Linked DNA regions of Homo sapiens: regions 1, 2, 3, 4, 6 and 7 are each linked to region 5. The links are contacts of gene promoters, found by promoter capture Hi-C in blood cells and fetal thymus (Javierre and others, 2016). All regions are on one chromosome and are shown on one strand. Each heading gives the region's core, a stretch centred on a gene start or on the middle of the fragment in contact. The rest is flanking DNA. Distances are from core to core; before and after follow the strand shown. Region 1 overlaps PLPBP (pyridoxal phosphate binding protein). Region 2 overlaps LOC124901934 (a long non-coding RNA gene). Region 3 holds the start of NSD3 (nuclear receptor binding SET domain protein 3). Region 4 holds the start of BRF2 (BRF2 general transcription factor IIIB subunit). Region 5 holds the start of MAK16 (MAK16 homolog). Region 6 holds the start of ERLIN2 (ER lipid raft associated 2). Region 7 overlaps INTS9 (integrator complex subunit 9).

Evidence for each region. Contacts are between HindIII fragments. The CHiCAGO score rates a contact against its expected background, and 5 or more counts as called.
Region 1: a fragment that was not itself captured here is called in contact with the fragment with the promoter of MAK16 in region 5 in 1 of 17 cell types (erythroblasts); the score reaches 6.2 in erythroblasts.
Region 2: a contact is called between a fragment that was not itself captured here and the fragment with the promoter of MAK16 in region 5, in 4 of 17 cell types (activated CD4 T cells, naive CD8 T cells, erythroblasts and 1 more). The highest score is 9.3, in activated CD4 T cells.
Region 3: the fragment with the promoter of NSD3 here is called in contact with the fragment with the promoter of MAK16 in region 5 in 1 of 17 cell types (fetal thymus); the score reaches 5.6 in fetal thymus.
Region 4: the fragment with the promoter of BRF2 here is called in contact with the fragment with the promoter of MAK16 in region 5 in 1 of 17 cell types (erythroblasts); the score reaches 6.0 in erythroblasts.
Region 6: a contact is called between the fragment with the promoter of ERLIN2 here and the fragment with the promoter of MAK16 in region 5, in 5 of 17 cell types (naive CD8 T cells, naive CD4 T cells, activated CD4 T cells and 2 more). The highest score is 10.8, in naive CD8 T cells.
Region 7: a contact is called between a fragment that was not itself captured here and the fragment with the promoter of MAK16 in region 5, in 1 of 17 cell types (naive CD4 T cells). The highest score is 5.7, in naive CD4 T cells.

The regions. Positions count from the first base shown.
Region 1 is chr8:37,778,631-37,782,097 of GRCh38, forward strand. PLPBP (pyridoxal phosphate binding protein) reads left to right here. Exons shown (of 8, transcript NM_007198.4): 8 at 1-1,138. Among named protein-coding and RNA genes, the nearest start is that of ADGRA2, 17 kb to the right of the region's middle. RefSeq lists enhancers at 1,859-2,359, 2,300-3,467. The HindIII fragment of the contact is 3,237 bases long and covers 1-2,869 here.
Region 2 is chr8:37,758,614-37,762,386 of GRCh38, forward strand. LOC124901934 (a long non-coding RNA gene) reads right to left here. Exons shown (of 2, transcript XR_007060889.1): 2 at 1-3,773. Among named protein-coding and RNA genes, the nearest start is that of PLPBP, 2.1 kb to the right of the region's middle. RefSeq lists enhancers at 3,581-3,660, 3,761-3,773 and a silencer at 3,720-3,773. The HindIII fragment of the contact is 2,312 bases long and covers 1,103-3,414 here.
Region 3 is chr8:38,380,896-38,384,719 of GRCh38, forward strand. NSD3 (nuclear receptor binding SET domain protein 3) reads right to left here and starts at 1,376. Exons shown (of 24, transcript NM_023034.2): 1 at 904-1,376. It also overlaps a transcript of LETM2 not described here. RefSeq lists enhancers at 1-433, 724-1,514 and silencers at 1,163-1,562, 1,593-1,742, 1,933-2,282. The HindIII fragment of the contact is 5,398 bases long and covers 1-3,824 here.
Region 4 is chr8:37,848,591-37,852,145 of GRCh38, forward strand. BRF2 (BRF2 general transcription factor IIIB subunit) reads right to left here and starts at 1,271. Exons shown (of 4, transcript NM_018310.4): 1 at 1,040-1,271; 2 at 6-65. The coding sequence starts at 1,193. RefSeq lists enhancers at 947-1,086, 1,127-1,476. The HindIII fragment of the contact is 8,285 bases long and covers 1-3,555 here.
Region 5 is chr8:33,483,902-33,487,716 of GRCh38, forward strand. It overlaps MAK16 (MAK16 homolog), which reads left to right and starts at 1,281. Exons shown (of 10, transcript NM_032509.4): 1 at 1,281-1,320. The coding sequence starts at 1,306. RefSeq lists enhancers at 437-1,073, 1,061-1,210 and silencers at 701-890, 1,101-1,288. The HindIII fragment of the contact is 3,746 bases long and covers 1-3,176 here.
Region 6 is chr8:37,734,958-37,738,439 of GRCh38, forward strand. It overlaps ERLIN2 (ER lipid raft associated 2), which reads left to right and starts at 1,677. Exons shown (of 12, transcript NM_007175.8): 1 at 1,677-1,721; 2 at 2,951-3,072. The coding sequence starts at 2,966. LOC102723701 (a long non-coding RNA gene) reads right to left here and starts at 2,469. Exons shown (of 2, transcript NR_125821.1): 1 at 2,422-2,469; 2 at 1-1,841. RefSeq lists enhancers at 1,550-1,759, 2,239-3,031. The HindIII fragment of the contact is 8,102 bases long and covers 1-3,482 here.
Region 7 is chr8:28,884,791-28,888,645 of GRCh38, forward strand. All of the region lies in intron 1 of INTS9 (integrator complex subunit 9), which reads right to left. Among named protein-coding and RNA genes, the nearest start is that of INTS9, 3.3 kb to the right of the region's middle. The HindIII fragment of the contact is 4,325 bases long and covers 1-3,855 here.

The DNA.
Region 1 (3,467 bases), core at 1-2,500, 4.3 Mb after region 5:
TTCAGGAAATGGCTCAGGTTAATTCTCAAAACACAAATTGTTGCTGGCCAGGCATGGTGACTCATGCCTGTAATCCCAGCAATTTGGGAGACAGAGGCGGAAGGATCACCTGAGCCTAGGAGTTCAAGACCAGCCTCAGCAACAGCAGGAGCCCCACCCCCCGTCTCTACAAAAAAATTTAAAAATTAACTGGGCATGGTGGCTGAGGTGGAAGAATGGAAGAATCACTTGAGCCCAGGAGTTTGAGGCTGCAGTGAGCTATGATTGCACCACTGTACTCCTGCCTTAAAAAAAAAAAAAAAATCCCAATAGTCCATGAAGGCTTTGATCTCTTGGGAAGTTCTTCATAGATGCTGTCACATTTCTTAAAGCAACCTTTTAATATGCAGATAATACCCCCCAACTTTTTTAGAGACAGCCTGTCTCTTAAAAAAAAAATTAATTTGGTAGTGAGAGCTTGTGTCACTGCCACTCTGTTTTATCCCTGAAATTAAAGGATAACATAAGGAGGACTTGGGCCTTTCTGACATCATCCTGAAGAGACAGGACTTTGCGTTTTTCCTCTGGGACCTACAGTGATGAGAATTTAATGATTATCTCCTCCACTATAATCCTCTTTAGGGTGATTTTTTAAATCAAAACCCAGTGAATCTCATTACTCCTAAGAAACGAAAGATTCCTTCAAAGCCTTTTCAGGCACATGGTTTCAACAAAGCCTGGCTTTGACATTCCTTGTCCTGAGGAGCACTTTCCAGGCATAGTTACAGCTTCCCCACTGTATTTACAAGCCAGAATTGTGCAACTCTTCTGGATCATTAATAAAGTAGCAAGATCCTCAAAAAACCCAAAAACACCATTCTCTAATAGTCATGACAAATGGCTTCAGTATGGCTTGTTTTTTATTTTCCAGATGGCTTTTTCTCTTATTTTTTGAAGCCCCAGTCTTTGATTTTACAGGTAACTTTCAAAACATCATGATGCTGCCAAATGTACTTTTGTAAACTTAAACATTATGATTCCTGTATTATTTCAGTGAGAGCTACAGTGTGATATTTCAGAGTCTATTAAATAAAAATGTGAGTTTGAATTACACCATCTGTGCCAATTACAAAGCAATTAAAAGATTTATTTTTTATGATCTGGTGTAGTGACTGAATATAACAGGTGGGGGCATTGGAACCGACGGGAAGCAGCTATGCTGGTGCCTTGGCATTGTGCCAGCCTGGCTTTGGAGGAGGGCTTCCCTGGGGTCACAGACGCAGCCAAAGCTACACCATGGGTGAGAGGGATTCTGAACTTCTAAGGGCAAGAAAAAGGACATTTCAAGAATTACAAAAATAGTTACCCCTCACTGCAAGAGACTTTTGAATTGCCTCTAGATGGCGACATTGGCTAACCTGAGGGACAAGCACTGGCTCTCCACTGTCAGTAGTTTACCTTATGAGGGACTCCTGGTTACTCAGTCTGGTGGAGGCCAGAGAGGACATGACGCTCTCAAGTGATAGTGTGACTTGCAGAGCCTCAGGGGTTCGATACCAGCTAGCCTGGGCAACACGGTGAAATCTTGTCTGTACCAAAAATACCCCGCCCAAAAATTAGCTGGGCATGGTGGCACATGCCTGTGGACCCAGCTACTCCAGAGGCTGAGGTGGGAGGATCGCTTGAGCCTGGGAGGAAGAAGTCACGGTGAGCTGAGATCGCACCACTGCACTGCAGCTTGGGTGACAAGGTGAGACCCCATCTCAAAACAAAACAAAAACAGCGAATAAGGAGGAAAGCCAGGGAAGGCTCAATCAGATCTAGATAAGGGAAGGACACCAAAGTGTGTCTAGGGTGTCCCCAGCAGGATGGGATATTTTGCAGAGAGAAAATTGAGCCAGGTTGTGAGTTTGTCTTTCGTTACGCATGATGGGTGGCAGGTTGGGTTTCTTCCAGATTTTCATGAAAGCCAGTTCCTGGAGTTTGGACGGCTTGCTCTCCTGGATTGGGCCCACCTGTGCAGCCTCACAGTCTCTGAAGGCGCTGGGCCCTTGTCTGCCCTGAAGCCAGCCTCAGAAGGCTTGAGACGCCACAAAACCTCCCAATAGTCCATCAAGACTTTGATCTCTTGGGGAGCTCCTCACAGATTCTATCACAGTTCTTAAAGCAACCTCTTAATACTCAAATGGTACCCCCCACCTTTTGTTTAACATTGATGGCATATGCAGCACTATTCTCTATATTCTCTCATTTCACCATCACAACAGCTGGTAGACTTGTGTAGGCTGATAGGCAATGTCCCTTTGTGGACGGGGCACTGGGGCCCAGAGAAGGTTCCGTGTTCTCCTTGTCTGAGGTCAGAGTGAGTTGTGGCAGGACGAGAAATAAACTCAGGACTTGACTTTCTGGCCCAGAACATGGTCACTACTCCACACTGGTATCTTCTATCTCTACCTTTAATAATTGATAAGTGGCATATTCTTAGATGTGCAGCTTTCATTTAAACGAGCCTTATTACCATAAAATAAGTGTGTGTGTTTCTATTCCAGTGGAACAGCTGAGAATTGACGCATCTTAATGCAGAACAAACTTTGAAACCACAGGCAGTGGGGGTGAGAAGGAAGGAGAGCATTAAACCCAGCCATGAGTGGGATTGGCCTCCCCTCTCGTCATCCCATCTCCCTCCCAAGCTCATTCCTCATGATTCAAGCTAATCTCACAGGCTGCAGGGCCCAGAGTGTGCAACCCTGTGCCTTCCCCCTGAAGCTGGACCAGCAGTGAATTCTGTTCCCCAAGGCTAGACACACAGGAATGAGGTCAGACAGGACATTCTTAAAATCCAGGACATCTTCATCCTTCAGAAAAGAAGTGGTCGTGTGCATCCCACCAAAGCTTTGAAGGAGGAAGTACTCGCTTACCAATTCCTGAAGGGCTGCAGTAGGAGTGGAATGTCACCAGTGGTGCAAGGGGAAAGGATTTCTCTGGGAACTGTGACTGTCTTTACCATGAAATTAGTTGAATGCTATTACATCAGCCTCATGACTAAGGACAAAAGAATCCAGACTGTCTACCAAAATGTTTTACTAATCTGTCCTCCCCTCAAGGAACACATAGGTAAAGAAAAGGGCTTCCTTTTCCACCCAGTTTGCACCAACGTGTGTAAACTATGGCTCTGTGTGGTTAAGCAGCTACTTGCAAGGTAAGGGTCCTTAAACTTAAGTTCCTCTTCTATAATCACGTTGAAGCCTCAAGGGACCGCAGAGCTAACACTTTTTTTTTTCCTTTAAAGTGCAGCACAGAGCAGCTGAAACGGCACACAGTGGGGACAGCAGGAGGGGCTTTTGGCACTTTTCTTGTATTTAGAATAAATTTTACAAGCCCACACTCCTGAGCCTTGAGATCACAGGGAGCAGAGGCCACTCTGAGTGCCGGAGTGCCTTCTCGAATGGTCCCATCTGCACCAGCTGCCTGGAGACACCGCCTGCTAC
Region 2 (3,773 bases), core at 1,009-3,508, 4.3 Mb after region 5:
AGCAAACACAGTATTGAGGATACATACCTCTACAAAAATGTTGTGTAGAAAATAACCTGGTTTAAAGAAAGAAAAGAAAAGAAAAGAAGCCAGGCACGGTGGTTCACACCTGTAATCCTAGCACTTTGGGAGGCTGAGGTGGGTGGATCACCTGAGGTCGGGAGTTCAAGACCAGCCTGACCAACATAGAGAAACCCCATCTCGACTAAAAATAGAAAATTAACCGGGCATGGTGGTGCATGCCTGAAATCCCAGCTACTTGGGAGGCTAAGGCAGGAGAATCACTTGAACCTGGGAGGTAGAGGATGCAGTGAGCCAAAATCACGCCACTGCACTCCAGCCTGGGCAACAAGAGCAAAACTCTATCTCCAAAAAAAAGAAAAGAATCTGATTTGGCCCTGTTGAGAGGAACTGTCCAGTTCTGGTCTCCAATTTTAAAAATGAAAAAAATTTGAAGAAGCTAGAAAGAAAATGTTAAAACCAAAAAGAAAAAAAAAGTAATTAAGAAATAAAGCTCATAGGTTGATGCCAGAAAAGGCAGAAGGGACATTTAATGACTTCACGATTATAAAAGTTACATACTGGTAGCTAAAAAGAGGAAATTCACTTGAATAAAGGAGGATTTGTAAAGAATTTACTTAAGATCAGGCTTGCTAAATTTTCAAATGGGGAGGAGTAGTTACTTGCAAATAGAAAATAAATATTCTTCTCTGATGGTCTTCAGAAATTGTGAAGACTCTGTGCTGTTTGGGATGGTTTAAATGTCATTCTTTCTGTATGAAACCTCCCTAAGTCTTCCCTAGGTCTAGGGTTCTACTATCTCTATAGACATTTCAAAGGCCAGATGTGATGGCATGTGTGCCAAGGGCTTGCTGTCATGGGCTACTCTACCTGAATTCATTTAAACTGGGATGGGACATGGGCATTATTTCTCCGTTTCTCTTTAGAGCTAAGTAACCAGGCAACAGTAATTTTCTATTTTACTTTTTACTTTTTTATCCCCCTAAAAGACTCACAGTAGGCTCAGAAGGAAACAATTTTTAAATCCATATATGTTTTTCTCATAATTTGGATTTATTCCAGACTATGAGGGTGTTTTAAAAGCTTGATGGCATTGATGGTGAATAAGTATACTAGATTTTAGATTATTTATAAAATCTGTTTCTCTGGGCATTTGGCTTTTTAATCTTTCTCTTTTCCCCTTGGTCCTTGCAAATTATTGGAGCAATTTAAAGACAATTACTGGTGATGAAATGATTTTGGACTTGTATTTTTCAAGGATTAGGTAGTAGGGGAGGATGAAAGGTTAAATTGGATGGTTGATGTCCCAGGAAGAGGAAGAGAAGAAATTAAAAAAGCAAATAAGGAAAAAAAGGGACAAAGTGAAATAAAATTAATTCAAAAGTACAACTAAGAAGAAATTGGAATGTGAAATGACCATGGGACTGGGGGCACCATGATCTTTTTGTCTCCATTTCCATTTTCATAAGACCACAGAATGTCAGAGATGAAAAGCGAGCATATTGGAAGTAAATCGGCAGTAAAGCCTGTCTTACTCAGCCTGGTCTCTCTCAGGGTTCTTTACAGAGTAACGCCTCAGTAAATGTTCACTGAATGGATAAGGGGGTGGGAGGATGACCTTGCCTTGTAGTTCAAAGAATAGAGGTCCCTGGCTGGGCACGGTGGCCCACGACTGTAATCCCAGCACTTTGGGAGGCCGAGGCGGGTGGATCACAAGGTCAGGAGTTCGAGACCAACCTGGCTAACATAGTGAAACCCCATCTGTACTAAAAATACAAAAATTAGGCGGGCGTGGTGATGCACGCCTGTAGTCCCAGCTACTCGGGAGGCTCAGGCAGGAGAATCACTTGCACCCAGGAGGCAGAGGTTGCAGTGAGCCGAGATCGCGTCACTGCACTCCAGCTTGAGTGACAGAGCAAGACTTCGTCTCAAAAAACACAAAAAAGAATAGAGGCCCAATCTAGTAAATGAAGCTACAACTACTTGTTGTCATAGTGACGTAACACCTGGATTATACATTCCCTAGATCTGTGAGGTATTTATGGTTTTAAAATGTTTTCCAAATAGCACATTATTTGAAGTGTTTCATCTCACCCAATCCTTCCTCTACACATCCCATCACCATGATCCCCTCTGTCCTCCCCATCACTCACTGCTGGCTCGCTCCTTCCCACCTGTGTCTCTACAGCAAGCATCTATTATGCTCACACCACAAAGGGCCATTCTGGTCATTTTAAATTTTTTTATCATTTTGGTTGGAGTACAGATGTATCAAGTCTAGAGACATTTTATCTGAACACAATTACTCCTAATGTTGGCAGTCCTAGTTTGCAGATAACCCAGTTAATGTGTACCAGGGTAAATGACCAGAGACTTCCCAAAAAGAAGTCCCTTATTTTAAGGATCTGAGGTTCTGCCTAATGTGACTTTCCCAGAGCAGAAGATGTGAAATTCCATCTCTGTTCCTGGGAGTCTGGGGAAAAACTGTGAGAGGAGAGAGTAAGAATATTGCCCCTTCTTTCCGGAAAGCTCTAATAAACCCCATCACCTCAAGACAAGACCACCTGAAGAACAAACATTAGCCATTTCTCTAATATAATAGCATCCCACTTCATTAAGTTGAATTAATGTTTGAGAAACTTTCAACAGAAATTGCAGCCAAGAGTGCTTTCCTTAACAAAATTGATCTCCTTCTCCTTGCCCGTAGCACCTACTATTTCACCACCTGACTATGTAGCATTCTGTATTATTATTTGTATGGCCTGGCTCCTCATCAAGTTTATAACCATATTGCCCACAGAAGGGGACTCAAGAATCAAACTCAGGGCGTTGTGGTGCCCGTTTGTAGTCCCAGCTATTCTGTGAGGCGGAGGTGGGAGGATTGCTTGGGCCCACGAGTCCCAGATAATCTGGGCAACATAGCGAGACCCCATCTCAAAAAAAGAATCTAACTGAATGTGCTGAGCTCCTGCTAGACCATCTAAAGCTGCCTGTGGGCTGGGCGCGGTGGCTCGCACCTGTAGTCCCAGCTACTGGGGAGGCTGAGGCAGGAGAATCGCTTGAACCCGGGAGGTGGAGGTTGCAGTGAGCCCAGATCGGGCCACCGCACTCCAGCCTGGGTGACAGAGCGAGACTGTCTCAATAATAATAATAGTAATAATCATGCTGCCTGTGTCCCCTGATGAGACAGCACTGGCCGCAGGTGGCCGCTAACCTCTCGAAATAGGGATGGCCCGAATTGAGACATATGCAAGTCAACACTACACCGGGTTTCAGAAACACATACGATTTTCAAAAGAATTAAAATATCGCATTTAGTTTTTCTATTGATTGCATGTTGAAATCTTACTTTGGATATATTGGATTAAATAAAGTATATCATTAAAATTTTTAAGCTTATGTGCCTATGAGAAACTTCCAAATTACACAGTTGGATGGCGTTATATTTCTCTTGGACAGCAGTGGTCTGAAAGATGACAAAAATCACGATACGTTTGAATCACGCCATGTCTTTAGGGAAAAGAAGAAAGAAGAGTTTCCTTTCGTATCGCTTAGGGGTTCCTCGCAAGAACCATCTGACAGAGAAAAGCCCTGGCTCCCGCCCCAGTGGCTTCTAATTCTGGTCCCCGCGCCCAGAAAGCCGGGAACGGGCAAGCCTGGAAAGGCGTTTTGAAAGGAAACAGGATCCCCCGAGTATAGGATGCGTTTCTGCCTCACAAAAGTCCCTTGGGGGTGGGGGGACGGCAGCGGCT
Region 3 (3,824 bases), core at 126-2,625, 4.9 Mb after region 5:
CCTCCCCAAAACCATCAAATTATGGCCATGTCTCTCCCTGCCTCCCTTCCATAACACAAACACATCGCCTTCTCCCTCAAAACAGTAAAACCCACACCTCCCCATTTCACAACAATCACAATCCCATAACCACCAGCTTCTCTATTCTCTAGCCTTGAAAGAAAGACACAGAATACACACAAATACAGGAACAAAAGGCCTCCCTTCCTAACACTTTAACGACCTCCATCCCCTTCTCTTCCTCCCACTCTGACGCTAAGTCGATCGTTCTCATCCCTGTCATCATTCAGTTAATTTCCTTCCCTAGCCCAATCCTGTCTTCCAGTTTCCTGCGTCTATTTCCCATTCTCCTATTGCAGCCTGCCTCATCCCCTTTCCTAATCCACCTTTTCCTTCACTTCCATTCCTCATTTCTCCCTTCATTCCCATAAAATGCCCCATTTCTCCAGCAAATTTATCCCCTTCTCCCAGACTCTTCTGGTTCCTACACTCCATCCCCAAATCTCCCTATTTATCAGTCCACCCAGGTCTGTAATCTCCATGCAACTCTTCTCCCCTTTCCCTGCCCCTCCCCGATCCATCCTTATCCCCGCCCCCATCCCACTTTCCCAATTCCCAGCTCAGCGCCACTCCGACTCCCATCCCACTCCCCACCTCCCCTGGCCCACCCCCCAATTCCCTCCACACCCCCCACCTTGCCATCTGCTCCTCCGTCAGGACTCCCCTCGAGCCCTTTCAGGCCACCCGCTTCCCCTTCCATTCCTCCTGGGGTCTGGCGCTCCATCCCTAGGTCGCCCCCTCCCCGTCGTTCCCTCCTCAGCCCTTCCTAGCACTACACACGCGCGCGCGCGCACACACACACACACACACACACACACATACACACACGCACACGCACTTTACCTTCAGTTTGTTCCATTCTAACCCCCCGGCCGTGTCAGTGCGATCACAGGAGAGACACGGAGGCCCGGAGTGGGGCTGGGGTGCGGGCAGCCGCTGGGGCCGCGCGAGGAGGAGGCGGAACCGAGCTAGGCCGCATGAAATCCCCGGGCTAGATTTTCCCCGCGCCGGACGCCTCTGCCATGGCGGCCGGCACTGAGGAGGGCCACGGCCGGGCCGGGCCGGGCGTGCTGCGGGAAGAGGAAGGCTCGGGAGGTGGGATGGGAAGGGGAGGCCGAGGGACGGGGGTCGCCGCGCCGCCGCTGCTGCCAGAGAGGAGCCTGCGGCTGGCAGCCCGGCCTGGGTAGCACGGTCCTCGGCGCTCGGCTCGGAATTCGCACGCCTCTCCGCGGCGACCTGTGCACAGCCCCCTCGGCCTCCGCCTCCGTGCTGGCCGCCGCCGCCGCCTCTCCCGCCGCCGCCGCGCACAAAGCCCCCCCACCCCGACTCTCGGGGCGCCGCCGCCGCCAAATCCTCAGCCCCTCATTGGCCGCGGGCCGCGGCGCCTGCCGGGAAATGCAGTCCCTGGTTCGGGACGCTGGGGCTCCGGAGGAAGCGGCGAGTCGGCGGGGCGGAGGGGGCGGGAGCGCGAACCAGGAACGCCCGCGGCAGCTAGCGTCTGGACGACTAGGGAGACCGGGCGAGAGGGCCGAGGAACGAGGGACGGGGAGGGACTGTACGTGGGAGAGTGACACACAAAACACCCCGGGAAGCCGGAGGAGGCGTGGAAAGGTGGGGCCCGGGAGGTAAAACTGGGATCGGCGCGTTCAGTGAGGCTGATTAAAGAACAACGCGCAACCAGCGCCATACGGCGCTCCTCAGGGTGACTCGGCTCTCTAGCTCTTAAGGGTTAGAAGCGACCCTCGCACGGTCCCCGGTGGGTCACCGCGCGAGGGCGGGGCAGTCCAGGCGACCCCTCGGCCGTCTCCCGTCCTACGGCTGTCAGGGAAGGGCTCCGGTTCCGGTAGGGTCTGCATTTGGAAAGCCGGGGGCGATGCAAGACCGCCTTGGCGTCGTCTCCCTCTCAGCCCCGGCTGAGCTGTCGGATGGTCCCCCTCCCCCGGTTGCAAGCAGTAGGAGACCCGGCCGGCGGCGCCGGCTCGCCGAGGGAGCGCCTCGACCTCCCCGGCAGGCGCCGGCCCCGCGCGCCTCTTCCTGCTCTGCTGCGGCCCGGAGGCTTGTGGGTAACCGGGAGGACGACGTCAGCGCCCGCCGCATCCCCGGGTGCCCCCCAGCCGCGGGGGACCGCGACGGCTCCGTGACCGTCACGTGCCGGAGGCCGCGGCTGCTCGCGGCCAGACCTTCGCATCGAGGGACGTGAGGGACATTTGTCCTAGAGGGCCCAAGATAAGAACGAGAGGAAGAACCGGGAGGCAACTCTCCGTCATCCTCTAGCCCCCCGCATCCTAGGAAACGTATGGAAAACAATGGAAGGTTAAGTGTGTGCACAGTGATCTGGCCCTGCAGGAGTGTGCCGACCAGGTGATATTTCCTGGGGCCTGGTGATAAGGATTTGGAAGGTTACAGCACAGAGACGTGAACGTAAAAAGGAAACAGAGGCAGCAAGCAAATGAGGAAACCGATACTCTGTTCTGAGAATAAAGCCATTTTACCGCTAGACGTCATACTCTGTAGACGTTATAGTGCTGGATGTCTTTGGTACTATTACAAGAAATTAGATATCTCTATCTTTAAATATCACTTAAGGAAATTAAATGATTTCTACAGATCAGTTATTTAAAAGGGCACTAATTATGAACTATTTTTTTTAAACGTAACCCGGTTAATACTAGATACTGAGAATTATCAGTATTGGCTGGGCGCAGTGGCTCACGCCTGTAATCCCAGCACTTTGGGAGGCCGAGGCAGGCGGATCACGAGGTCCGGAAATCGAGACCATCCTGGCTAAGACGGTGAAACCCCGTCTCTACTAAAAATACAAAAAATTAGCCGGGCGTGGTGGGGGGCGCCTGTAGTCCCAGCTACTCAGGAGGCTGAGGCAGGAGAATGGCGTGAACCCGGGAAGCGGAGCTTGCAGTGAGCCGAGATCGCGCCACTGCACTCCAGCCTGGGCGACACAGAGAGGCTATGTCTCAAAAAAAAAAAAAAAAATCTCATTACTATTAATCATTAAATATTTTTAAACGTATGCTTTAAGTAGTACCACAAGTTACAGCTATCAGTAAAAGCATACTTTTTATTTGTGATATGACATTTTAAAACACAGATGGCCAAAGCGGGCCACCAAGTCTAGCTTAATTCTATCTCCAGGAAAGAGGGATTAAATTGGTCTTTTTTTTTTTTCTATGAGCCTTTCTACCTCCATTCTTCTTTTTCTTCCTCCTGTGTCTTCCTTGCTTTGTTGATAAACTGTTGCCTTGACCCGGCACCTGGGTTTCTCCCTTGAGGAGAATCTAGTAAATTGTCCCCAGGGATCTTATATTAGCCTGTTTCTAATAGCTATGCTGACAGCAAGAGTTTAAAATTGGAGTTATGTGAAGTAGATGCATAGTCTTTTCCTGCAAAACATTACAAAATACAGTTAGTATACTTGATCTGGTGGCATATTTAGGAAAATGGCCATTAAAAATAATAGTTTACATTTTCAGTATCTAACATCTTCTGAGGTTTAGACGATGCTTACTGTTCGCCATAGAAAATGAACAAGGAGCTCATTAAGACAGCAATCTAACACAATTCTCAGGGCCAGAGTCATGGAGGAAAAAATATTTTTTTAAAAATTTCTCTTCTGAAGATTACATACAGAATCTTACATGATAAATCTCTTATCCTGAAAGTCAAAGAAATTGCCAAGTCTCATAACTAGGGAAGACGGACATTACTTTGAACAGATATCTCAATAAGAAGAGTTCTTAGCCCTTCCC
Region 4 (3,555 bases), core at 21-2,520, 4.4 Mb after region 5:
CTCACCTCGTTGCTGGCTGCGACTAACTTGTTCGTTTTCCCCTGTGCTTCGGGAATATGTTACCTCTGTAAGATAATAAACAACAAATAGTGTGCTTAGCCTTTATTCATCAGACCCCTGCCCTCCCACCACACAAAACCAGGACGCAAAATTCAAATCATTGAGCATCTGCTGCTGCACAGTTAAAGGCCCCATCTGGTTTTCTATGTCTACAAGAGGTTCCGAATACACAGAGACTGGGAAAGGTTAGGACTGCATTAAAGCAGCTCCAAGTGTTCCAAATTTCCAGTCATCCTTCCAGTACATTCCATACAGGCAATTTTCCTAGCAGCAGATTTTGTTGTTGTTTGTTTAAGGAGTTTCCCTCTATAGTCCAGGCTGGAGCACAGTGGTGCGATCACAGCTCACGGCAGCCTTCAACTTCCAGGCTCAAGCAATCCTCCTACCTCAGATTCCTGGGTAGCTGGGATTACAGGTGTATGCCACCATACCTGGCTAATTAAAAAAAAATTTTTTTAGGCACTTGTCTCGTTACGTTACCAAGGCTGGTCTCGAGATCCTGGGCTCAAGCAATCCTCTCGGCTCTGCCTCCCAAAGCACTGGGATTACAGGCGTAAGCCACCCCACCCAGACAATGGCTGCAGATTTTGAGGGCTGCACTGGTCAGAAACTTGGAAAGCAAAGAAAAGTGATGTTTTGCCAGTTTGTGCTTAAAACTATTTCAGGGTAATAATACCTGCTATAATCGTATCGGCAATCCTTCCACAATGACCAGACATGGCAAGATGAGTGGAACTTTTGTTTCTGTCTCACTTATTCAATATTTATTACACGCACCATCTATGCCCGATACTAAGTGCTGGGAAAACACAGATGAATGGCAGCCCCCATCTCCTTCAGCTCCCTCGCTCACTTTAGGTCATTTTCTCTCAAATTAAGTGTGTGCGTTACAGTTAGGAGTATGGGGGGAGCGGGGAGGCAAAAGGAATCTGATGTTAATCCCTCCACCGCCCCAGGCTGTCCCCAGGGCCACAAGTACCTCGGAGATTGCCCTCGTCGCTGAAGGTAGTGGTAAGGACCCCCTCGGTGACCACGCAGCCGCAGTCGGAGCACACCAGCTGGCTCTGCGAATAGTGCGAGTCTTCCACCAGCTCCGTGGAGCCGCAGTCCGGGCAGCGGCCTCTGCCTGGCATCTCACAACCGGCCCCAAAGCCGCGGAAGCCTTCAGAGACTCCTGGGTCTGCAACAGCAACCGTGAGGCAGCAAGAAGTAGGAGGGGACACTTCAAAGGGTTGCACCCCCGTCTTCCGGCCAGCGCGACGGAGGCATAGGCGGTTCCCTCCGCTGGGAGGCTGCGCGCCACTTCCGGTCTGTGCCTCCGCGGGCTCGGGTAGAAACGTGAGCTAGGAGAGGAGGTTCCTGGGCTGAACTGTAGCTGTCTGGTTTCCCTGCACTCTGTAGTTAGTTTTTGGGACCTAGACTGGGGTTGAATTTGGGAAAGTTTTTGCCTACATGGACACGTATAACAGACAGAAGATTGTTGTCACCCCTGAACAACCCTCCTTTTAAAGTCCTAAGGGAATCGCAGGTTGGTAATGAATGTTTAATTGGCCATAGAAGAAAGTATATTTTTTAAAGGGAGAGTAGTGGAGAGAGAGCGGGAGCAGGAAACTGTGTTCTGCTTTCCAGAGCTGCTTCCTAAAGCAGATTCCTTCCTCTCTTTACCTCCTGTTTTTCTCAACTGTAAAATGAGGAAGTTGAAAAAAAAATCCAGAGATGCAAACCCAAACGCTTTTGGAGGCCAGGCAGGAATGTCTAAAGGAGTTTGGAGTGAAAGAATATGGAGTGATGGAGACCTGGAGCGGCGCAAGCACGCAGATTCAGATGTTTTTTAAAAAACCTTGAGCTATCTGGGCGTGGTGGCTCACGCCTGTAATCCCAGCACTTTGGAAGGCCGAGGCAGGTGGATCACCTGAGCTCGGGAGTTTGAGACCAGCCTGGGCAACATGGTGAAATCCCGTCTCTACTAAAAATACACAAAAATTAGCTGGGCGTGGTGGTGCACGTCTCTAATCCCAGCTACTCAGGAGGCTGAGGCAGGAGAATCGCTTGAACCCAGGAGGCGCAGGAGGCGCAGTGAGCCAAGATCGCGCCACTGCACTCCAGCCTGGGTGGCAGAGCGAGACTCCATCTCAAACAAAATAAAACATACCTTTAAGAAGTGTCACTCCCTTCTTTTCCACACCCAGTTTTTACACGTGATATCCAAACCTAAAGACACCATCCCTTCCCTAAGAGACTGCTTTCTCAGAGTGTGAGAATCACTACTCCTTTTCAGAGACATCCCGTCCATTCCCATGGGGATCGCTCACATTGGAGGGCCAAGAGACACAATAATACCCAACGGTCCTTTCTCTTCAATTTGAATTACTTTAGTATCATAACAGAAGGGGGCTTCAGCACATTAATCGTGGGTGGGATCCGGCAGTCCAAGCCCCCCCGCCTTTTCTAGACCTCCCCACTAGCGTGAGATACAGGATGAGAGCTTATTTCTGGCTGTCTGACAGTTAAATATTAAGATACATTTGCACATGCGCACCCGCACACACACACCACTCAGAGACATCCATTAGTTTTAGTGTGGTTGACATTCTTATTTGGATGAAGAAAGTGTCCCTGAAAGCGACATAACTTGCACTGGGAACAGTTCCTTGCATGATCACACAGCAGAGCATCAGACTCCCCTCATCCCCAGTTGTGTGCAGATCTTGAACCTACCTTCACTTTTTTTTTAAGCGGGACTTTACAGAGCCCATCTACCTAGGACAGAAGCCTTGAAATCCTGCCTGACCCAACCTGATTGATTGTAAAGTGGAAAAGCAGTTTTATGATCCTGCAGCCAGCCACGGAAGGAGAAAGCTGGTTGTCTTTCCCAGTCACACATGATGTACTTACTGGGAGCCTAGGAGAGCCTGGTCCTCGGGCACACACAGGCTGGGAGGGGGCAGGGTCCAGGCCAGAAGATGGCGCCCTCTACTAAGATGTGTAAGTTTGGGGTTCTCCACTTTCTCAGGAAGAAGTCCATTTATTTGGGAAATGTATTTGCCTTGCTCCAGGAAATCTGGACAGACGTGGAAATCATCTTGGTGCCCTCTCCACTGCTCCCAGTTCTTCTAAGAGTTATCATTCCTGGTAGTGATTATCTTATTTTTTAATTTTATTTATTTATTTATTTTGAGAGGAGTCTCACTCTGTCGCCCAGGCTGAAGTGCAGTGGCACAGTCTCAGCTCACTGCAGCCTCCACTTCCCGGGTTCAAGCAATTCTTCTGCCTCAGCCTCCCAAGTAGCTAGGACCACACGCGCCCACCACCATGCCTGGCTAGTTTTTGTATTTTTAGTAGAGATGGGATTTCACCGTGTTGGCCAGGCTGGTCTCAAACTTCTGACCTCAGGTGATCTGCCCACCTCGGCCTCCCAAAGTGCTGGGATTACAGGCATGAGCCACCATGCCTGGCAGTGATTATCTTTTTAACAGATGCCCCGAGTGCCCAGGG
Region 5 (3,815 bases), core at 31-2,530:
TGCAATCTGTTTTATCAGCAACATCCTTATGACCTGTATTTTGTGCTGACCTCATCCTGTGATTTAGATGGCCTGACCCTCGGGAATGCAGCCTAGCAGATCTCAGCCTTATTTTACCCAGCCACTATTCAAGATGGGGTTGCTCTGGTTCAAATGCCTCTTGACAGTCTTTCTTTCCTTTTCTTTTTTCTTTTTCTTTTTTTTTTTTTGAGAGGTAGTTTTGGTTGTCACCCAGGCTGGAGGGCCACAGCATGATCTCGGCTCACTGCAACCTCCGCCTCCCGGGTTCAAGCGATTCTCCTGCCTCAGCCTCCCAAGTAGCTGGGATTACAGGCACCTGCTACCACGCCCGACTAATTTTTGTATTTTTAGTAGAGACGGGATTTCACTATGTTGGCCAGGCTGGTCTGGAACTCGCCCGCCTAGGCCGCCCAAAGTGCTGAGGTACAGGCGAGAGCCACCGCGCCCGGCCCGGCCGACAGTCTTTCTTCTATAATACGATACAAACTAGTAAAGATTTTCTTTTTCCCCTGGCGGAAAAGAGCTGTTAGGCTTCCAGATTTGTTTTTGTGGGTTATTAGACCTCTACTTTTCTTCTTGGTATTTTCCCTCCCTTATCAACTTTGTTTGTTGTCTCAAATAGGCAATGAGGAAGACACAGGTGTTTATTATTATTGGAATGCTCTTTCCATTTGGTCAGTGGTTTCTCAAAGCAGGAGGAATTCAAGTTCTGAGTTTCTAAAGTCAGGACCCGGTGCCGCACCCAACGTGGGCGTGGGGAGTGGCTAAGTCAGGGTCTGAGGGGCAGGGCCGGGGCCTGGCTGCGAGCTGGGGCCGGGGGACTCGGAGGAGCGGGGACCCAGCCCCGCCGCGCCGCCTGCAGCTTTCCCCAGCCTCCTCCCAGCAGAGGGGAGGCCCGACAGGGAGGGGTCCCATCCTCATGAACGGTCACAAACAGGGCGCTAGGGAAGCACGCCCGACCCCCGCGGTCCCCGCGCTCCAGGATTCGGCAGACTGCGCGCGTCCTGCCTCCCGCGGATCGCACTGGGTCCCAACAGGGTTCCCAGCTCCAGGCTGCGCCCATGAACAAGCCCAGCATTGCGGACGGGCGCGCGCAGACGCCAGCGTGGTGAAGACGCGGGGGCGCGCGCGCGGCGACGAGACTGCCAGGGGACGCTTCGCAACACCGAGAGTCTCAGCGTTTCTCGAGATAGGTGAGGCTGCGCGTTCCGGAACTGGTTTCCCGGAAGGAGCATGTCTGCGCCCGCGATCCGACCGGAAGTTGCACGCTGAGCCGCGGACACCATGCAGTCGGATGATGTGAGTCTCCTCCGGTTGTTCTTACACCCGGGGTTTGCGCAGGGAATTTTGCCCATTTTCGGACACTTAGAAAACGCGTACGCAGCGGGTCTGTTGCCTCGTGCCGCTCTGGATGTGAGGCTTCCGGAACCCCGATTTTCCAACATAGGTTCTCACGCGTGTCTAGCAGGGGTTTACTGCCCGCTGCCCCGGCCGGGTTGTGAGCACAGGACTCCGTCACCTCAGCCCATGGGGTCGATGTGTCCCGTCCTTCGTGCCTACCAATGCAGGACGTCGCGTCATGCTGTCAGCTGTCAGCTGTCAGCTCCGGACTTGGGGTGGGGGGCGGCCCGGGATTTGGCGAAGCTGACTCCAAGTTTAAGCGTCCTTCTCATCCATGTGCGCGTTACTCTTCCATCTGCGTTTCCTGTGTAGGCTTTTCTTTACATTTGCTCTACTTCTGCCTAAGTCATAATTTCGGAAGTATCCTAGATTCATTCATTGAGTTTTTTGTTGGAGAAATAACAGTGTGCTTACAGTGTGCCAGGCATTGTGGTAATTATTGAGGATTTGGTTAACCAGAAAAAATGTCCCACCTCTCCTGGAACACTGATGGGGGAGACACAGTAAACAAGTGAACAAATAAGTTAACAATTACACTATATAATCATACTATGAAAGAAAGACCAGAGATGATGAAGGACACTTCAGATAGGGTTACTCAGGGAAGGTTTCTCTGAACAGAAGATGTTTGAGTTGAGATCTAAAAGATAAGAATAAGCCAGTCACTGAGGAGCTGAGGAAAAAGCAATCCAGGCAGTAGGAACAGTAAAGTACAAAGAGTTGAAGATATGAGAGAATGAATATAAGGGTCATCAAAGTGACAATGTAAGACAGGTAATGAAATTAGATATGCTTGCCAGGGCGAGGTCATGCAGAATCTTGTAGGAAGTGTTTTTTAGGCCTTTTAATGATCTATGTTTGTGAAAAGTTGTCTAGTTGCTGTGTGAAGGACTTTTGGAGGGAAAAAATGAAAGCAAGGAGACTAGGGTATGACAAAGGTTGCTTCAAGCCAGACACAGTGGCTCATGCCTGTAATCCCAACGCTTTGGGAGGCTGGGGCTGGAGGATCGCTTGAGGCCAGGAGTTCGATTCCAGCCTAGGCAATAAAGTGAGACTCCATCTCTACAAAAAATAAAAAATTAGCTGGGCGCGGTGGTGTTCGCCTGAGGTCCCAGTTACTTCGAAGGCTGAGGCAGAAGGACTACTTGAGCCGAAAAGTCCGAGGCTGCAGTGAGCTATGATGGCACCACTGCACTCCAGCCTGGGTGACAGAGAGACCCTATCTCTAAAGTAAATAAATTTTTTTAAAAACGAAAGTGGCTTCGCCTAAGGTAGTAATTTAATGGTGGAGATGAAAAGAAATTGATGAATTTGAGACCTTTTACGTCAGTATAATTGACAAGACTTTGGTGATGGATTAAGTGAAGAAGAAAAGGAAGAAATCAAAGGATTTGGGATATAAATACATAGTTAAATGGTGATTTTATTTATTGAAGTGGGGGAACTCTAGGGAAGACTGTTCTTACGAGGGATGTGGAATTGAGAACTCCTTGTGGATATGTTAATATTTATGTTGCCTTTTAGATATTGAAGAGATGTCATATAAAAATCTGGTGCTCAGGAAAGAAGTCTGACCAGAAAATAACAATTTAGGAGTCATCCATTTAGAGATGATACTTAAAGCCACAAGCCTAAAAGAGCTCCCTTATTCTTCTTACCTGTTTCCTACCATCCCCCACCAGACACACCTATAAAATTCTTAAAGTGTGTTTTATTCTTTTGCCCTCTTCATATTTTTCCTTTAACAGTGGTAAAGCTTTTTTTTACCCCAGTTCCTCAAGGCAGCGCACTCAAAGGCTGTCATACTCTTACGCATGCTATGTGGCCTTTAGACCTGCTATTTTGTGATACTTTGTTTACATATCTTTCCCCTAACTAGATAGACGAAACTCTTTAAAGAGTATACTTTCTTTCATTCAGCAAATACTTAAGTGGCTACTGTGTGTCAGGACTTGGAGATGTCAGTGCCTTACATAAATTAAGTATATAATGCTGAATGAATAAAGAGCACATTAAGTACAGGAGGATAGCAGTAGATAGTTTTCTTTGCCCTCAATGAGATAAAATTATGGTATGTATATCTAAAAATCTAATACCATGAAGCCTTTTTTTTTTTTTTGGAGATGGATTCTCACTCTGTCGCCCAGGCTGGAGTGCAGTGGCGTGATCTCGGCTTACCGCAACTTCTGCCTCCTGGGTTCAAGCGATTCTCCTGCCTCAGCCTCTCAAGTAGCTGGGATTACAGGCACCTGCCACCACACCTGGCTAATTTTTCTATTAGTAGAGATGGGGTTTCACCATGTTGGCCAGGCTGGCCTCAAACTCCCAACCTCAAGTGATCCGCCTGCCTTGGCACTCAAAGTGCTGGGATTACAGGTGTGAGCCACTACACC
Region 6 (3,482 bases), core at 427-2,926, 4.3 Mb after region 5:
ACTCAATTATTAAATAAACTATTAAATAAGCATGCCCAGCTGAGGTTATATCACTGAACAGGGAGAGAAAAAACTCAAGTTCTGATAGGATTGATCGAGAGATTGGCCAGCTGTGTCTGTTTGGGGTGGGGGATGCAGGGACAGAGTAGGGAGATGAAAGGCCTTCATTTATGGAGATGGGCACAGAGCTCCCAGACAGCACCATGTAACCCTCGTATGGGTTTCACCATGTAATGCTGAAACATCCCAACACCCAGAGCAAACGCAGGAAAGGTAAACGGGCCAATCCCAAGCAGGCATGCCTGGAAAAAACCACACTTCCCTTTTCCTGAGTCTTAAATCTGTCTAACACCACCAGCTTGCCATCTTCCCGGTGTAAAAGTTTTTCTTTTACTGAAGGCTATAATTAAGTGGACTCTTTCTCTCCTGCAAACAAAATATTAATAACCTCAGTGGCTGAATTAGAAATGCCCCAATGTGATGCTGGTGAATAGGGCAGGTGGAGGACAACGTGAGGCCCTTAGACTAGGAGACACAAACTCTGGATTCCGGGCCTGGTCCCACGTTGCCTTCAGTCTGTTTTTACTGGGCACCTAAGCCCCGGGGGTGCGGAAGGAAAGTCAGTCTCTGCTCTCCCGGGAACGTACAGTTTATCTAGAAAGACGAAGTGCACTAGCCCCTGTGCACTGTGGCAGGAGTTTAAAAAGCAGTGAACTCAAGATATTAAGGAAACACAAAGGAAACTTTCCTTGGCTTTTACCCTTGAACCTCGCTGAACTTCTTAGATTCCGTTCATTAAAATTAGAATAATAATTCCTTGTTAATATACTTTGTGGCGTTGCAGGATCCCAAGGGCCAAAGCTCCCAGAAAAATATAAAGAACAACTCAAGGTAGGGATTTTTGATTGGTGAGGTAATGATGCTAATCTGTACATTGAAAAGACTGTTTCATTTCAGCTGTGCTATAGGAAAGCAAACAGTTGCAACTCGCCAGTACCTTATCAAGGAGAGAAAAAAAAAAAGGCCGCGCATGGTGGCTCATGCCTGTAATCCCAGCAGTTTGGGAGGCCGAGGCAGGAGGATTGCTTGAAGCCAGAGTTTGAGACCAGAAATACCAAGACCCTGTCTTTACTAAAAATAAAATTGTCAAGTGTCGTGGCGTGCGCCTGTGGTCCCAGCTACTCAGCAGGGTGAGGTGGGAGGATCGCTTAAGCCCAGGAGTTCGAGGCTGTAGTGAGCTATGATCGTGCCACTGCACTCCAGCCTGGGCAAAAGAGCGAGACCTTGTCTCTAAAAAAACCAAAACGAACCAGGTTCGGCCTAATGCAGAAGGAAATCCGGAGCAATCCCCAAAGTCAACGCCTTGGAAAGGTTCGCCCTGGGTCTCAGTACTCCGGGGCATGCGCGTCCTGCCGCTCGCTCTCGGGGAGCTCCCACCAACACCGCCCTCATCCCCAGCCCCAGGACGGATACCCAAGACCGAGGTCCAGGACCGCACCGACCAAGTCGCGGGCGATCCCTGGCGGCCAGCTACGGCCATTGACCGCTGGGAGCGCGAGGGGCGGGGCGCAGAGCGAGCGCGGGGCGGGGGTGTGGTCTTCTCGCGTGAATTGATGGCGTCATCGAAGCGACGGCCCGGAAGGAAGTCGCGTGCTGAGGGGTGTGACGGTTTTCTTGCTCGTGGGCTCGGACGAGTACGGAGCGCCTGCAGGGACAGCCTGGTACGCGGCCCCCGCCCCTTCGTGCGCGCGCTGGGCCTAGCTGCCGCTCAGGGTCGGGGCTGACCCGTCACTTTCGGGAACCTCAGTCCCAGCAGCTTCTCTCCCTCAGCCGGCCCGCTCCTGGAGAGAGACAGAAACCCTTTTCTGTCGCGTCCTCTCCTTGCGAGCCGCAGGGGGACCGAGCGGAGGCTATTGGAGCCGCAGCCCCAGACCAGGGCGCTTGACCCTCTCTCGGAACGGGGCGGGGAAGGGGCGCGAGTGACCTCGGGGAGGGAAGGGCACTGGCAGGAAAGGACGCAACTGCAGATCGGTAGCCGGAGGCCGCCACGGTAAAATAAGCGCCTCGCAGATGTCCGCGCCCCGGTTACGTTAGACCTGGGAGGCAGAATCCACGCCCTGCGCTCACGGGCCCACGCACGCACAGCTGAACTTTGCAGTCAGTCACCATAGTTCCAGATCATTCAGCGTTCAGGATCCCACTCCTCCGCGTCCTGGTGCCTGAACGCGGTTGGACCTAGGAGCCTAGAGGCTCGCAGTTTGGGACATTGCCTTTCTCTCTGACCACGGGCTTGGGGATCTGTCAGGTGCAAAGTGCCAAAGTATATGGGGGGGAGTGTGGCTTCAGGCTTGTTCAGAGCCCTGTCCTGTTTAGGGCCAAAGGAATAACTGGGAAGGTGGATGCGAGGCCAACGAATCCTACCTTGAAACTCTGCTCGCCTGCTGGCTCTGCCACTCCAGCATCTGAAAGGAGTAAATAATGGTTTCCTTTGAAACTGCAGGCAATTAGGAGTGGGAGACTCTGACCAGAATTACATAGCCACAACTGCCTGTCATTTGGCATCCTCTGTAATTTGGGCCAAAGTACTGCAGCTGCCTCTCTTCCCTACTACTGGTAGGAAAGGTTCAGTGACAGCACATTCGTGTTCACAGGAAGACAAGGCTGTGTTCTGAACCCTACCCAGCTGGCACGGGTTCTCCCTTGAGCAACGGCTGTATCCGGAGCCAGTGCTTCCTCAGTGCGGTGGGGGCTCTAATTTTACAGTTAAAGAAAGGGGAACGTTGACTGAGAACGAGGAGGAAGCGAGTTGTAGATCTAGCCTTGTGTTCACACGACACCAGGCTGGATATGAGTCACTCGCAGGGAGCTCAGCTTGGTGAGGTCCTCTCGCTGTTGTGGCCTTTTCTCCTGCACGTTGGACCACACACATTTTCCCGTGTCTTTTCCCTAGGATAAAGGCTCACTGATGGCTCAGTTGGGAGCAGTTGTGGCTGTGGCTTCCAGTTTCTTTTGTGCATCTCTCTTCTCAGCTGTGCACAAGATAGAAGAGGGACATATTGGGGTATATTACAGGTAAGGCAGAGACAGGGAGAAGCCGGCAACTTCCTGTTAAATAGCTCCCTTTCCTGGTCATTGCTTTCCTAGCAGATTCTGCTGAACATCTCTATTTATATTTCCTTGAATAGGGGAGCCTTTTCAGATGGAGCTTTTTATGTCAGTAACCACGGGAAAGAGAATACACACACACACATATATATGTAAATTTAGAACTTCACTTAGTAGTCCAAGATGATGCCATGGGTGGTGATTAATAAATGTGTATATAGATTTAGAGACAAAATCTAAAGGAAACTGGTGCTCCTCATTGATCATCCCTAAAATACTGTTTTCTCCTACATTCCTCTGGCAGTCTTAGCTCTACATCCCTCTGGCAGTCTTAGCTCTACATCCCTCTGGCAGTCTTAGCTCTACACTGCTAGGTT
Region 7 (3,855 bases), core at 824-3,323, 4.6 Mb before region 5:
ACATTTTAACAATTTGTACTGCAATAGTTGAATCAAGCACCGATAAAATGTTGAGGGCTTGTAATTTATAGCCCGAGATTTCCTGTTTTCATGTACAACCTAGGAAGCCAACAGGATTCTACAACCATGTAAACTGGAGGAAGAATCCAACACTCTCAGATCCAAGGTGAGGATTAACCACGCCCCTTTCTAATGATTTCTTAAACTGACCTTGGGGCAGGATTTGCCCCTTTCAAGCAATCTTCTACATAATCTACAATTGCACTCGGTGTTTTACTTGTCTTCCACTGGGAGCAGTCCATGAATTCATTTCTTTGCTCCATCTGTTTTCCCAGGAGAAATGGCAAGTTAAAAGTTTGAGCCAGTAGAAATGAAACAGCATTTTGAACAAAGGAGCAAAGACCACTGAAGAATGTATTTCGTGGCCTTCTCAAGTTTTAAAATTTGTAAACACAACTACAGCATGTAATTTTCTCCTTCAAATTTAATAAGTATAGTATAACAAGCATTTAAATGACCTTCCTTTAAGACTTTTAACAAGCCGGCCTCTGCAGAGCGCCATGGATTCTGAGGCACTCAGGCCCCTCCCAAAGGATTAACATTAATCTTAAAGTCACATTCAAATTTGTGTCTCAGCAAAATTATAAATAATTCCATGTCACAGGGGTCAAATGTAATGGTTAAAATGGAAAGCGTTAAAATTGTGAATGCCAAGGGTATACTGTGGTTGCATAAAAAATCTTTGTTGACTGAATAAGCCAGAAGATTCTCTCCATCTCAGGTACTATCTGTAGGAAGTACAACACACAGGCTGCATTCTTGAACTGCTTTGGATTATTTTATTCGCTTGACTCTTCATCTATTTAAATGACTGGGTTCCTGGCCATGATGTTTCAAACTTAATTTCTGTCAACGTGCTCAGAATTTTTTGTTCCATGTTCTTTCGGTAAGGACCTTTGTGAATTCCAGTTTCTATCCTTAGCTGAACTGGCCATCAGCGTACTCAGTTAGGCTCAATCTATACAAATAACAGAACATGCTCTAAAATGTGCTAATTTAAAAGATATATTTCTAATTTTCCTCTGCTTTCTAAAATGATTCTGGTTAACTGAAAATGCCAATGAGTTTTCTTCAGTTAAATAAAGCTGCCTGAATATTGCATATTATAAATACGGAAAGCCACTGAAATCCTCTGAGTTGGTATCTAAGAAGGAGATACCCAAGTATTACGTTATAATGGCATCCATTGTTTTCATGTGGGTGTGTGAAAAGCCACCAAGAGGGTGATGTGCAAAGTTAGAGAATTATAAATGGTATCACAGGAGCTAAATTTGGAAGATAAAAAATACTAACTTCAGCACCAAATTAGTATGCTCTGATATGGGGGCCTTTAGCTCATCAAGAAAGTCCTCAAACTTAAAAAAAATTTTTTTTTAACCAATAACCTTAAAAACTTTTTTTTGTTTTTTGTTTTTGAGATAGGGTCTCATTTTGTCACCCAGGTTGTAATGCAGTGGTGCCATCACAGCTCACTCCAGCCTCAACCTTCTAGGCGCAAGTGATCCTCCTGCCTCAGCCCCTCAAGTAGCTGGGACTACAGGCACATGCCACGACGCTCAGCTAGTTTTTGTATCTTTTGTAAAGACAGGTTTTGCCATGTTGCTCAGGCTGGTCTAGAACTCCTGATCTCAAGCCATCTGCCTGCCTCCGCCTCCCAAAGTGCTGGGATTACAGTCATGAACCACTGCACCTGGCCTGAAGATCTTAATTGAACCACACTTGCATTTAAAGCTAATTTTTAAAAATAGCCTTGAATATATTTTCTGTATGCACTCTACCTTCTTTTTTTTTAAGAGATAACCTAGGCATGGTGCAGGGTGCTAGAGTTCCTACCCTCACTAAATAACAGGGAAACCTGGGTTTCGATCTTGGCTCTATCATTTTTAATCCATGCTAACTTTAAGCCACTTACTTCACCTCCCTGAAGCTCACATTTTTTGTCTGTAAAATGGGAATACTGTCACCTGGATCAAAGGATTAAATGGGAAACTACATAGCAAATACTTAGCACATTGCCTGGCACACAATAATTGCTTTATAAAAGGTAGCTATCATTCCTTTTTTACTTCAATGGTTACTGCTTATTGTAATCTCTTTAATTTCACTCTTTAATCTTTTCTCAAGGGTATCCATAGACCTTGATAAACCTTCAGAAATTATTTACCAATTATTTACACAGAATCTACATGGGGGAGGACAGACACACGCCAATAATTACAAGTGCTACAAATAGGAAGTATGCCATCAAATATATAACAGGGGTACTTAATTCAACGAGGCCCTGAAGAAGTGTTATTTAGACAGAGATCTGAAATATATGAAGAAATTAGCCAGGCAAAAAAGAGTGAGGCAGGCAATGGAACATATTCAACCAAGTTAAGTGTAGGAGGTTATCCTAAGGGCAAAGGAAGATACTGAGAGGGTTTCATGGAACTCTGCAATTAAAACAACTTCCGGATGCAGAGGAAAGAATGAATTTGAGAGGGTTAAGACTGAATGCAGAGAGACCAGATAAGGGGTCTTGTTGAATTCCGATTACAAAGACAGTATTCTAGTTGGACTGGAGAGAAATAGAACCTATTTAAGAAAGCTGCATTTAGGAAGCAGAATCAATAAGAGGTGGTCATAGATTGTGTGTGGGAAGGGTACTCTGGAAAGTGAATCTCAAAAATGAGAAAATGCTAAACAAAATGTGTTTTTGTTTCATAATTATAAATTTAAAACACAGCCTATTACATATTTCTGAAGCAGTACACAAAATTAAAACTTTTAGGCCATGGGAGGACTTATTCCAACCATTTGGGAGGCATGACACACCCATCTAACTTACTGAGCAACAATGCTTTTGGTATGTTGATGGGAATTCTCAATTACATTTATCTATCAACTACCAAATAAATTTTAGTATGTAATACATAGTTGCAAAGTAAAGAGGGAGTATGAGTATCAATAGAATACTTCCTTTTCCTCTGAGACATCTTTGGTTCTTAATGGAAAAAATAATTTTCCACTTTTTTACAATCCCCGGTTTCATATTTCTAAATAAATTAAGCAGGAGGATTTTATGAGCAAACTAAAATATATGTAAAGTAAACCCTGGCTTTTTGATACCCTCACTAATGAGTTGTTATGGGAAAAACTATTTCACACTTCCCTGCCTTCTTAAACTGAACACATTAAATATAATTTGCTCTTTATTGAGAACACAGGGTCCATGCTTTAGCCAATAAGGTACCAAGCTCTTATGCTCCTATAAGCTGACCTCTTTCATGGAAGGCCCTGGCTTACTTATCCTTATCAGTTCAAGAGTCACGTTTCCAGGAAGCTGTCCCCTGACCTCCCCAATCCTCTGTTCTCTGAATTCCCAAAACCCTGAACACGCCTCTATTTCACCATGAACACAGTGAATTATAATTTCGGACCAGGCATGGTGGCTCATGCCTGTAATTCCAGCACTTTGGAAGGTTGAGGTGGGCAGATACCTTGAACCCAGGAGTTTGAGACCAGCCTGGGCAACATGGTTAAACCCCATTTCTACAAAAAAAATAAGCAGGGTGCAGTGGTGCGCGCCTGTATTCCCAGCTATATGGGGAGACTGACGCGGCGAGAGGATCGCTTGAGTCCGAAAGGTGGAGGTAGCAGCGAGCTGAGAACGCGCCACTGCACTTCAGTCTGGGCCCCACAAAGCCAGACCCTGTCTCTAAATAAATAAATAATAACTTTGGTTTACTTTTCTATCTTCTTCTTAGGTTGCATGCTTCTGTAGGGCAACGGCTATGACTTTTAATTCTGCAT